Regions from separate parts of the Homo sapiens genome. Here all the other regions are linked to region 3. Evidence: promoter capture Hi-C in human tissues and cell types (Jung and others, 2019). All regions are on one chromosome and are shown on one strand. Each heading gives the region's core, a stretch centred on a gene start or on the middle of the fragment in contact. The rest is flanking DNA. Distances are from core to core; before and after follow the strand shown. Region 1 overlaps OR4M2-OT1 (OR4M2 overlapping transcript 1). Region 2 has its middle 30 kb from the start of OR4N4. Region 3 holds the start of OR4M2 (olfactory receptor family 4 subfamily M member 2).

What was found. The method cuts DNA at HindIII sites, captures the fragments that hold promoters and counts their contacts. A contact is called where the count stands out against the background at its distance.
Region 1: a fragment that was not itself captured here is called in contact with the fragment with the promoter of OR4M2 in region 3 in 2 of the 25 tissues and cell types used here (bladder and spleen).
Region 2: a contact is called between a fragment that was not itself captured here and the fragment with the promoter of OR4M2 in region 3, in 8 of the 25 tissues and cell types used here (adrenal gland, aorta, bladder and 5 more).

Annotation. Positions count from the first base shown.
Region 1 is chr15:22,027,920-22,032,463 of GRCh38, reverse strand. OR4M2-OT1 (OR4M2 overlapping transcript 1) reads right to left here. Exons shown (of 9, transcript NR_110480.2): 4 at 1,444-1,538. It also overlaps the pseudogene OR11K1P. Among named protein-coding and RNA genes, the nearest start is that of OR4M2-OT1, 40 kb to the right of the region's middle. The HindIII fragment of the contact is 4,215 bases long and covers 1-3,872 here.
Region 2 is chr15:22,122,722-22,127,239 of GRCh38, reverse strand. It overlaps the pseudogene OR4N3P. Among named protein-coding and RNA genes, the nearest start is that of OR4N4, 30 kb to the right of the region's middle. The HindIII fragment of the contact is 6,844 bases long and covers 1-4,518 here.
Region 3 is chr15:22,077,620-22,081,953 of GRCh38, reverse strand. OR4M2 (olfactory receptor family 4 subfamily M member 2) reads right to left here and starts at 1,427. Exons shown (of 1, transcript NM_001004719.2): 1 at 344-1,427. The coding sequence starts at 1,329. The coding sequence ends at 388. All of the region lies in intron 7 of OR4M2-OT1 (OR4M2 overlapping transcript 1), which reads right to left. The HindIII fragment of the contact is 6,887 bases long and covers 1-4,334 here.

The DNA of each region.
Region 1 (4,544 bases), core at 516-3,015, 50 kb after region 3:
TTTTTATGCTAAACATTGGTACAGATACATGAAACAGCATAAAAGACCATATATTCTCTAATGACAGAGTTCTTTCTTATTACCACTTTAAAACACTACAAGTAACCGGGAGTAGCTGAAATTGAAAGTAAATATTAATTTGTGCCCTGGCATGGCACTATATTGAGAAAGAGTATTTTTAAATATCTTGGTTTTGTATTTTATTTTTATACCACTAATAATAATGAATCAGGTATTCATAGTACTGTTGAAAGAACTACATACCCAGATAAATACAGTATCAATAATGCAGGTAAACAGAAGAAAGAGTAGACCCATTGTATATAGGTAATTTATTGGAATCACAAAATTTGCATTCCTGGTTTCAAGTCTAGTGTTCTTAGCAAGAAAAAAAACTCTCCACAATTCATATTTTCCCTTCTATTGTTGTGATTTATTAAAATAAACATGTGTAGGAATTGAGTCATGAAAGTCACAGTTTTGTTGTTTAAACAAAAGTCTAATTGTTTACTACTTTATAATATACATGATGAAGAATTTTGGTTGTTTCCAAGAAGAAACAGCACACTCCCTTTCATGTTTCAGTTACCTCTGCCATCTCCATGTCTTCCAGACTAATGAATGTGTTCAGCATGGAAACTATCAATTTTGTTAGCTGCCTTATCCTCATGGGCTTTCCCTCAAGCCCAGAAATGCAGCTCCTCTACTTCGGTCTCTTCTCAGTAGCCTATACTCTCACCCCGATGGGAAATGCAGCCATTGTCTGTGCTGTGTGGTAGGACCAGCACCTTCACACTCCCATGTACACCCTCTTGGGAAATTTCTCTCTCCTGGAAATATGTTATGTTACTGCAACTAAACTGCTGGCCAACTTCCTCTCCACAAGCAAGTCCATCTCATTCATGAGTTGTTTTGCACAGTTCTACTTCTTCTCTTTGGGGTATGATGAGGGCTTCTTCCTTTGCATCACGGCCTTTGACAGGTATCTTGCCATCTGCCGCCCTCTACGTTATCCATGCATCATGACTAAACAAGTATGCACTGGCCTCATCATTTTTGCATGGTCATGTGTCTTTGTAATCTTCCTAACTCTGGTGATTCTCATTTCACAGCTATCCTACTGTGGCCCAAATATTATCAACCATTTTATTTGTGATCCCGTCCCATTGAAGATGCTGTCCTGTTCTGAAGACATCATCATCACCCAGCTCATTTACTCCACATTCAATTCTGTCTTCATAATTGGCACCTTTCTCTTTATCCTTTGTTCCTATGCTCTGGTGATTCTGGCTATAATACGGATGCCTTCAGAGGCTGGCAAACGAAAAGCTTTCTCCACTTGTGCCTCTCATTTGGCAGTTGTCACCTTATTTTATGGCTCTATCATGGTGATGTATGTTAGTCCTGGATCAGCACACCCAGTAAAAATGAAAAAATCATTACCTTGTTCTTTTCTGTGATAACACCACTCTGTAATCCTCTAATATATAGTCTCAGGAACAAAGAGATGAAAGATTATCTGAGGAAAATCTTCAGGACTGGAAAAGATGTTAATAAAATATAAATAAGAGAATTTTCATTTATCAAATGTAACTTTATTATACATGAATATTTGTCTACAAATTTATTGTTTTATTTAAGAACTGCTATAATAATGAGCCATTAACATCTTAAACACCACTCACCACAATCTGCATTACTGTGGTCTTATTTAAGAATGTTTCAACAGTGAATTAGATTTTCTGTTGAAGTGAATAATACGTATGTAAAATTCTATGTCTATGCTAATCAGAACGTGTATATGTAACCCAACTTTTTAAAAAGAATGCAGACGTCCTTTTTGTATTACTGAGCTAAAGCAATTGGTAACACATGTGACAGATATCATAGACTGCTCTCACAATTAACACTATAATCCAATCATTATCCACTAAGAGATACTGGCTGAAAAAGAGCCAAGTTTTAAGTAGTCCAGCTTGTCAAAATGTAGCAAGTGGTCTTTACATTATATAAATAGACTAATAGCCTTAGTTTGATATTCAGTGTTTTTTCAGAGAGTACACAACCAAGAATTAGGAATTTAAAGCAGATTCGTTACCTGGAATATAGTGCAGCAAAGACCTAAACAAAAAGGTGAGCATTACTCAGGATATAGCTTTCTTTGTTGTAAACCCAGTTTAAACACAGGATTTGATACCATAACTAATTTAGTATTAATACTGTGTGACTTATTTGAGTACTGCTGGACAGTACTAAAATAAAACTCTTAAAATCCATTTTATAAAATATTTGACTAATATCTTGCTTTAATTTTGACTTTTGTTTCGTTCTATGCCATTTTTTCAAATACAACTCTCAAAAACTTAATGAAAAGGAATCACAATATGAAATGTAGTTTACAGAATTTTAATTTGTAAGCCATCATAGCTATTTGCTCCACAAAATGAGGTGCAACTGCAATTAGTTTTTGTGTCACAAGGAAGCTGAGTTGAGAATATTTTCTGGGTTTGAAAGGCAGGATTTATATGAGTTCTGGGGAAAAGAGTGGTTGTTTTATTATACCTCACATGTGAAATGTAAATTAAATAGCTAAATACTTGCCTGAAAACCTCTTTTATATAGGAAGAAAATACAAACAATTTAGAACTTCATTCAAACTGACTTCAACGGTGGGATCTCTTTAAAGTGCTGATAAATTTAACACTGAGTTTCACCTGTCCATGCCAGTTTTGTTTATATTTCTTAATTATATGAGAAAAAATGATAGAAATTCTTAATAAAATATAATCTCAACTGTTATAAATGTGCACAGTGCCCATATTTGTAATTATCTTCAAATTGATCATTAACCAATCTTATCTTACCAATATTAAATTCTATCTCATATTGAGCTTGCTGGCACTTGATAGAATGAATTGAAAACTATTAGATACAGTAAAAAGCATTTCCATAAGATACAAACATGCCTTCATTGTGACAATATCTCTTCCTCAGTTCATACCTATGGCTTCATGGTATTTCACACAACCAGCTAATAAATGAAGAAAGAGCCTCAGGCTTGGATCACAAATGGATTGTCTGAATCTACACTTAGACAAGATAAAAACTGACTAATGCTGCAGCTTAACGCCTCTCCAGAGTAGCCATAGAATGTAGTGGTGGAGGAAATCCTCGTAAGCCAATGATTCGGTAGCAATATACTTAGTTGTCCACTTTGAATGTTGGGAGAAATAGCTTGCTATGCAAGATAAGGATATGTGTAGTATAATGATTGTTGTAAAAAAGTTTCACTAAGCAAACCCCCTCAAAATACAGAAAAATCAGATTTAATGAAATTTGAGGTGGAGGCCTATGTATGGGCCTATGAGAATAAGCACAAAGTATGCAGATCTTTGTTTCTCAACTCTGTGCCCATTAGAGAGTATCCTCCAGAGTGGAGGCACTCAATAGCTAAGTGAAAAGAATGAGTCATCTAAAAATGTCAGTCAGCTCTGATTTCATTCACCTCAGAGCTTATAAAAGGGAATATAAAGAAAGCTGTATAAATGGAAAATATGCACGTGCCAAAAAATACAGGCATTATCTTACCAAGGTTGGTGACAAATCACTGAGCCACTGAAGATGCAGCCTCGATGAGAAACCAATGTTAAGCCCTCAATATGGCACCAATCTTTGAGAAAACCAGCCAGCAATGGGTGGCAAATTGATTACATCAAATTCCTTTTACTTTGGAGGGTGCCAAGTGACATGAAAGAGTATAGTCAACCTCTACTTCTTCATTTCATATTCACTCCCCAACCCCCTGTGATCTTGCTTTCTATCTCCTCTGCTCAACTAAAACTTCTTTTCATCATGTTTCTGTAGAGGATTAACAATAATCATCATATGGGTATTTTATCTTAGGTACAAGAAAGTATAGTAACTCAAATAGATTTTCCAATCTACCATTATTTTCATTAGTCAACATTATCTTAGCCAGAGAAGATGTGAACTCTACATTTTGTAATTCTACATTGTTTGAGTTTGAAAACCTTTGCTATAGCCTGGGAATAAGTTGTTTTTGGATCAGTTGCAGCCTCTTATGAACAAGATTAAAGATGAAAAAGTTGAAAAATGTGTATTACCCTATAATTGCAACTCAAAATCTAGCTTATTTTTCATGTTTCACATGAAAACAGATGTTTAACCTAGTAGTTCTCAACTTTAATATCCATATCAATCACCATCACGTATGGATCTTTTCAAAATGCAGATTCTCTGTGACATCAGGAAGATTGAAGAATAGGAGGTCCCAGTTTTCCCTACCCTTCATAGAATGTTCAATTAACAACTGTACACAGACAAAAACTCCTATGTGAACACTTCAAAACTCAAGATTAAGCCTGAGAAACCTGTGTGAACTAAATAACCAAACAAAATGCCACATGAGAAGTGTAAAAAGAATAGCCTCACTCTGACCACATCACCTCTCCCTTTCTCCCAAGTCAGCACAACACCACTTAGAATTTTTCTAGGCCCACAGTTTCTACAGTAGGAAAAGAGAA
Region 2 (4,518 bases), core at 814-3,313, 45 kb before region 3:
ACTCTCTGCTTACGTATGTAAGAAAAATTGGTAGTTTAATATCTTTCAAAGTGCACTTACAAATATAATATTTTCCTCTTAATGATATTTTTCAACTCTTTGATATCTGCATAGAATCTTGAGTTTACAGCCCTAAGTCATTTATGACCCTTCAGTAGAGGAATCACTCTTTTGCTTAAAGCCACAGAATGGCTTCTTATTGTAATTGTAATAAAATGAAAACTCACATTTACTATGTAGACCATATGTTTTTGACACTACCAGTATCTCTAACTTTAAGTTTAATCATTTTCACATTAAATTACTATATTCTTGGTAACATGGACTTTATTGTATTCTTCAAATATACCAAGTTCATCATCATCTTTGAGTTTTTGCACTGCCTGTGCCCTCTGTCTACCATACTATAGCCACAAAAGTTTGCATGTTTGGCTTCTTCAGTTTATCCAGATATGATCCAAAATGTCAGCTCTTCAAGGCCTTTTTTTATTATTAAACACAAATTGGTTACTCCCAATCCAGAGTCACAGTTTATCATTTCACTTTTCGTTTTAGTTTTTACAGAGCAGTATCTCTTCCTGAAACTATGCTGTTTATTTTCTACCTTAACGGCGGTCTATTTTTACTAGGTTGTATCTCTTGGAGAGCAGATAGACCTTATCTGCCTCAATACTTTCTTTCTTCAGTTCCTAGAATAGTCCTGACAAATGGGAGGTATTCAATGATTGCAGTACTTGGAAATAAACAAATCAATTTCAGATAAAATTCTACAGTCTATTTTTATTCTTTTTTTTTTTGCCCTTTTTCAGGCTATGTGTTTATTAAACACCTTTTTCATGGAAGCTTTCACTTCCTGGTTATGAAGGGTATAAATGACAGGATTCAACAAAGGAAGAATCACTGTGTGGAAGAGAGAAACCACCTTGTCGGCTGGGAAAGCCCTGAAGGGGCACGTGTAGATGAAGATGCCAGGTCCAAACATGAAGAATATAACAATGATATGGGTGGTGCATGTGGACATGGCCTTGTTTTTTGCCTCAGAAGAAGACGCTCGTATGCGACAAAGAATGACTGCATAGGAGGCCAGAAGTCCCAGAAAGCACATGAGTGTCATCAGGCCACTATTGAAGACCATCAGAAGCTCCACCACAAACATGTCGGTGCAAGCCAGCTTGATGACCTGTCGGACATCACAGAAGAAGTTGTCCAGCTGGTTTGGGCCACAAAAAGGCAAGCGGATGATGAGGACCACCTGGATAATGGAGTGGACAAAACCCCCAAGCCACAGAGCCAACATCATTGCATAGCAGGCTCTAGAGTTCATGACAGTTGAATACTGCAGAGGCAGGCAGATGGTGATGTAGCGGTCAAAGGCCATCACAACAAGGAGTAATCCCTCCCCTCCTCCAAGGAAGTGCAAGAAAAAGAGCTGAGTGATGCAGCCTCTGTAGGAGATTACCTTCTTCTCAGAGAGGAAGTCCACCAACATCTTGGGAGCCACAATGAAGGAGTAGGATGCATCCAGGAAGGCCAAGTTGCCCAGAAATAAATAGAGGGGGGCTGTGAGCCCAGGGTCTGACCTTATGGTGAAAATAATGAGAAAATTTCCAGGGAGGATGAAGAAGTAGAATATTAAAACTAGCACAAAGACCAGGAGCTAAATATCTCGAAACTGGGTCAAACGAAGGAGGATGAATTCTCTTATCACTGTTCTGTTCTCGCTTTCCATTTCCCTGGCCTGCAGTACATTAAGAAGCAGAATTAATTGTTATTGCTATGTCTTCCAACTAGATACTAGTTCTACAGCTAAAAAATATTTGGCACATATAGTACTTCAGCTAAAAACAACACTTCCCATCCCTCTCCTATTCTGGGGAAACTCCGTTACCTTAATTTCTCCAAATTTAAAATGAAAAATGAAAACAAAATATGGTTCTCAAAGCTACAGGTTTATTCCCATTCAACCATGTGCTTCTACAGAATCATTTTCCATGTTAGGAGTCTGGTATCCTCCACGTTGGGATTCCTACATTCCTAAATCATGTAAGTTTCCTAATGGAGACACAACCTAACTTCAAATCTGAAGGTCTTTGAGTTTTTTGGATATACTATGCTTGAGGGTTAGTTCTTTTCTTGGGATTAGACCCTTTTTCTCCTTGTCCACACCACCCCCAAATTTTCCTAGACATTTTCTTCCCTCAGTTCCTGTGTAATTCCCAGTTCCTAGCTGGTAACTCTCTTCCTTGCCCTCTGTCTTATCATCTAATTTACTTCTTATTATACTCCTTTTGGTCTGATATCCTTGAATACTCTTTTCCCAGACTGTTCACGAGAATCCCAAGCTATAGCTCCACTTTTGACCTAACACAGGCACAGTGCTCCAGCTGTAACTCTGTTTGAACACCACTCCTGTGGCCACTCCACACCTGCATGCAGCTTATTTAGCACTTTTTGAGTTTCAAATACTAATAAACTCACAACACATTTCTTTCTCTGTTCCAAGTATGACACCCAAGATACAGCCCTTTAACAAAAAATATGCTACAATATAAAATTTGCAAGTATAAAACTTTAAAATATCATTATCTCAACTCATAAGATCATAGCATAGATACACTGTAAGTAGCCATAAAGATACTGTAGTGTTATTCTTCCATTTCAAAGATGAGAAATAACCTGTAGTTATATTACTTAAGTTTAGAGTGAGTTTTATTTTTTGCTCTGCTTGATAAGTAGTAGGATAATGCAAGTGTATACTATTCAGTTTAAATAGATAAAGAATTTTTTAATCACAGCTTCAATGAATGAATGTTCTTTTTGTGCATCTGAATAACTAAAGATAATATTGCTAGTCTAAAATCACTCCCGTATTGCTTTGATTTGTAAGTTCAACCTTGTTTAAATAAAAAGAAAAACAATGTCCATTGTGAAGAAAATTCATATTTAAAATTCAGATTGTTTTCATGGGGTATACTCATTCCAGAAGGTGCACATGATAATCCACTGAAGTATAGAAAGAACATAGTAATTTATCTATATTTAGTCAGTGTATAACATTTTATATGTATCACTACATTTCATTCTTTTCTAAATTCACTTTTTAATATTTATAATGGATAACATAGTACAATGGTTTATATATACTTTATAAATAAATATGCATACATTTAAGGTTACATATTCAAAAAATGTCTTAGGGGAGTAAATTTTTTAAGTTTGAAAATTGTTGGCCTACAACAAAATACAAACTGTAATATAAAAGGATATTCTTAATATGATTTAACTAAACAGTGTATTTGTTTTAAATAAGTGCTCTAGCGGCCGGGCGTGGTGGCTTATGCCTGTAATCCCAGCACTTTGGGAGGCCAAGGCGGGTGGATCACGAGGTCAGGAGATCGAGACCATCTTGGCTAACATGGTGAAACCCCGTCTCTACTAAAAAAATACAAAAAAAATTAGCCGTAGTGGTGGTGGTTGCCTGTAGTCCCAGCTACTCAGGAGGCTGAGGCAGGAGAATGGTGTGAACCCAGGAGGCAGAGCTTTCAGTGAGCCGAGATCATGCCACTGCACTCCAGCCTGGGTGACAGAGCGAGACTCTGTCTCAAAATAAATAAATAAATAAATAAATAAATAAATAAATAAATAAGTGCTCTAGCACATGGGGTACGGAAGGAAGGGAAAATCTTTGACAGAAAATGCTACTGCAACAGTACCTAGAAAAGAAAGACAAGAAGATAGAGGATGAGGGAAGAAAGAAGAGAGAAATAGAAAATCAGGCAAACAAACACCAAACAAGCAAACAAACAAGCAAACAAACACCAAAAGACAGACAGCACATCTATATAGTGTCATCTTAGGGTACATATTTTAAGAAGCATTAAAACTATCTGCTTTATGTATCCCTAGAGTGGAATAGAGTGGTTAATACAGAAATTTCTGGGTGTTACTGGCAGCCACATGTGGAATTTATGAAAGTCATATTTTAACACATCATCATATATACATATGCAAATACCACATGAACACACACGTATGCACACACATACAAACACATGCAAAATTGTAATAGGAAAAAATATTTTGTAGATCCTTCAAATGAGCTTTTCTGCTCATGTCTTAACCTTTTCCCCCTTTGCCAGCCATTTGTCTCAACATTTATTCTACTATCTGCCTATATAAATATTTCCTTAAATCAAGAGCCCCTTCTACAGTTGACAATTGAACAATGCAGGAGTTAAGGGGGCAGATCCCCTGTGCAATAAAAAATTAGCACATACCCTGACTCCCTAAAAACTTAGCTTCTAATGATTACTGTTGATCAGAAGCTTTGCTGGTAACATAAACAGTTGAATAACAAATATTTTTGTTTTATGTATTATATACTATATTCCTACAATAAATTAAGCTACAGAAAATAAAATATAACAAAATCATAAGGAAAGGAAGATATAAATACTGTTCATTAAGTGGAAGCAAATCATCATAAAGTTCTTATCGTTGTCGTCTTCCCACTGAGTA
Region 3 (4,334 bases), core at 178-2,677:
CTAGCTGCATCCATATGCTTGCCATTTACTTCATATTTGTAATAGACACGTCTCATGTCTTATTTATTTTTCTCAACATGTTCCCGTCAAAGCCAGAGCCTCTGCAGAGTACTCAATAAACAATTAGTTAAAATGTACTTTAGCAGATTATTATATCTCAAATTCTAATAATGATCTGTTGGGAATTTCAGGGTAGGTGTGAGTAAATTTATTTTCATCTTAATGCCTCTATTTTTTCAATATAAAGAGGAATGAATAGAGAAAAATTATAGTAAAATTTTAATAACACAAATGAAAGGAGGAAGTCAATGCAGCATTATTACTGCAAATACTTCCTGCTTTAGGACAATGATCCTCAGGGGAACTATAAAATGTATAATTTATCTTTCACTTCTCTTTACACAAAATATATTTGGTGACCAACTTCCTCATGGCTGCCTTTACTTCCTTGTTTCTCAATGTGTAAATAATGGGATTACGTAAAGGGAATATTAAAGTATTGAACACAGACACCACTTTATCTAGGGAAAACGAGTCAAATGGGCGAGCATAAATGTAGATGGATGGCCCAAACATTAGCACCACAATGGTAATGTGGGAATAGCAGGTGGACATGGCCCTGTTGGTATTCTCACCTGAGCCTGAAAGTTTCTTGAACAAGGCCAGAAGGAAGGCATAGGACATTAACAGAGCAATCAAACACACCACAGAGATCAGACCACTACTACAGATCATCACTAACTCCTCTGGGAAGGTGTTGGCACAGGCAATCCGGACAACCTGTGTGATGTCACAGAAGTAACTGTCTAACTCATTGGGCCCACAGAAAGGAAGTCGAACAATGAGAGCCACCTGTATGATAGAATGAATGAAGCCCCCCCTCCAGGAGAGAGCCACCAGGATACAGCAGAGACGTTGATTCATGATGGTAGCATAGTGGAGGGGTCGGCAGATAGCAGTGTAGAGGTCAAAGGCCATCACTGTGAGCAAGAACATCTCCGAAGCCCCAGCAAAGTGTAAGAAGAAGAGCTGTGCAATGCATCCATCAAAAGAAATTATCTTCCTCTCCACAAAGAAGTCTATGAGCATTTCAGGGGCTGTAATGGAAGAGTACCAAATATCAAGGAAGGCCAGATTAGCCAACAGGAAATACATAGGAGAGGTCAGATGAGGGTCTAGACTGATGGTGCAAATGATAAGGATATTTCCTGGTAGGATGAACAAATAGAAGGATAGAAATATAACAAATAGGACTAGTTGGACCTCTGGAGTCTGGGATAGGCCAGTGAGAACAAATTCTGTCACCTTGGTGTAATTTGCAGTTTCCATTTCTTCAATTTACTCTTTTCATAATATAGCTATGAAAATTAAGAAACTATAATTAGTAGACATAGCATTTACCTAGAGTTATATCACTGCTTTCAAAATTGTCATACGTTCCCTGTCACTAACAGATTACACGAGGATACATTTGGTTGCCCATTTTATATCTGATAAACCAAGAGGGAGAGAGTATGTGATGAAGTTACAAATTGGAAACATTAAAACTATATGAAGTGTGGCATATATTTGAAACTCAAATCTCAGCTTGTTAATGTTAAAAACTTACTTTTTCTGAAATTTGGCAATGCACTACTTCTTCCCCCAAACATCTACATTAGTAAGCAATATGTGAAGCTACTTCTGAGTGTAGCCAAATTTTAGACTGGCAATCAGAGATGTGGCCTCTTTTTTCTATATCTTTTTTTTTGTTGGGAAATCTTGCCAACTTGGAAACTTAGGCTTGCATTCTAATAGCACACACACAGATCTAGCAGTACTTTAGTTGTGATACAGAAAAGAGATCCCAAGGCTTCATAAGTAGTGAAGGGACATATTTTTCCGTAACTGTAACCAAAACCTGTACAGCTTAATCCTTGGTAACAGGTAACCAGCCACAACATACAGCTATGCAAGGCCCTATATAAAAAATTCTTCTAGCTGTGACCAGATTCATCAATACCTGATACTACATTGAGTATAAAATTTGCTCACCACAGCAGGAACGTAAGTAGGTGTACTGATCTGAGAAATGAGTATGCTTGCTACCCAATTTGATTCTGAGCTGATCTGCTCTGCTGTTTCAAGGTGACAATGGGAATAATATTATTTTTAAAATTTTGCTTACTGCCCTGTATTGAATCTGACACCACTAATAGCACAAAACTTGTCAAATAAAAATGAAATAACAGTTCACATTACCAAATATGCTTTTCTTTAAGTAAGGTTAAAAACTGCCACACCAAAGTAAGTTTTGTTGTAACCAACAGCAAATACAAGAGAGTTGTTTCTTTTCTGTTGATGTGATATTTTATGATATTGCCTCTCCTATTACTTAAAAAAATTAAATATGAAAAGGAATTTTTAAAAAGTTAAGGTTCTGTAAAACCAAATAGACGTGGCTGTGTCCAAACACTTATGGGCACTATGTATACTACTGAGAAAAGAAATTAAATGCGCCATTTTTGGAACCTACTGACTCAATTTACACATAATTTTAACAAACATAGATAAATGACTTTCAATATCTTATAGAAGCATTGTATTTTGAAAAAGGGATGGCTTACTACAAGCAGACACACACACATAAAACCAGTGTTTTCCAGGAATCTGGTAGCAAGCGGAAGAAAGGTAAAAATACTCAGAAATTGAATAGTGTGGGACTATTTAGAAAAGGGATCAATTTCCCCTTGTCCATAAATTGCCCAGTGTGGACCTCAGTGAGTTAATGAAGCATATTTAATAAGATTGAAAAATTTAAAATTTGGTTTAGGAAGATTTTAATCAAAAGAAAGATAATAAGGTTATCCAGAATGAAATATTTCCTAACATTCCAAGAAACAATGATCTTATTGTACTTACCTGGAGGAGGCAGCTCATAGCCCTCATAACTAATAACACAACATTGTGTTATTAGTTATGAGGGCTATGAGCTAGTTATATACTAACTCATTTACATTCACTGATAAGTCAACTATGAGGTTCCAACAATCAAATAAATTTCTAACAAAAGCATCTGAAATATTATGATTACTCAGCTCATTTACATATTTTGCTATAATGCTATGTAGTTTTTGACCAGATGGAAGCGATTATTTGTTCCTAAGTAAATAATTGTCCCTTTATTATTGAAAGGAGATGAATATTTTAAAGCAGTAAATACCATTACAAGATCATATGCTTTTTTATTATTATGGGGACATGATGCAATGATTCTGAGTGTCATCACACAAATCACCCCTTCTTCCTCTGCTCTACTCCATACCCATTCCACCAAAACAGAAGTAGAAAATGGCACTAATCTAGAAAGAATTTATGTGAATGAGTGTTGATGTCTTGAAAAGACAGACATACATCAGGTATTATGGAATAGAAAGGGTGATTTTACCAGAAAAAAGTGTCAAAGAGATTTTCTTTTGTACCTCAGTGTTCAACATATGACATAAAATTAGAAACTAATGATGTATATACTTTGCATTAAGAACCAAAATCAACCACATTTATTCCTTAGGACAAAAATACAAAGGATTCATCCCTCCACACTCCTTGATGAGTGTCTCTGTCCTCCACCCTTCACAAGTGTCAAGTGGAAAAGAAATATTTTGCTGGAGCATCTCAATCCAATAGTCAGGCAGCCAATCAAACCCCCTACTCCCAAAGCTAGTAATGCTCAGCCACTACTCATCACACACACACACACACACACACACACACACACACACACACACCACTACACCATGTCACTTCAAGGAAGAACAAGCACCTAGTTTCCCTACATTAACATAACCATTACCTAAAATACCATAAATGACGCAACAATTCTTATTCTGTCCAGCACTTGTCATTTAACACATGTCAAAACAAAGCTATCTACATGTGATATTAAAAAGTCTATTCCTAAATATATAGCTTCTGTGTCACTTCTGTAAACTATTCATTTGTTTATCCCACAAACATTTAGAGAGTATCTACTATATGCTACCTGCTGAGACACAACAATGAACAAGGAACACTCAATATCTGCCTCATCAAACTTCCATTCTGAAAATATAGACAGACAATAAATAAGTAAACAAATAAAAATAAAATAAAATATAAATAAGTAAAATAAAATAATTGCTACTAGTGCTAAAAGACAAGCAGGAAATAAAAAGGCAATGGTAGAGTAAATAATGATGGGAGTGGTATGTGTGTGATGGAGTATTTTAGAAAAGGTTCTGAGTTGGTGACGTTTTTCTAACTTTGAAAGTTTGAAGAAAAGCATTTTAGGAATAGAGAATAGTAAATGAAAAGGC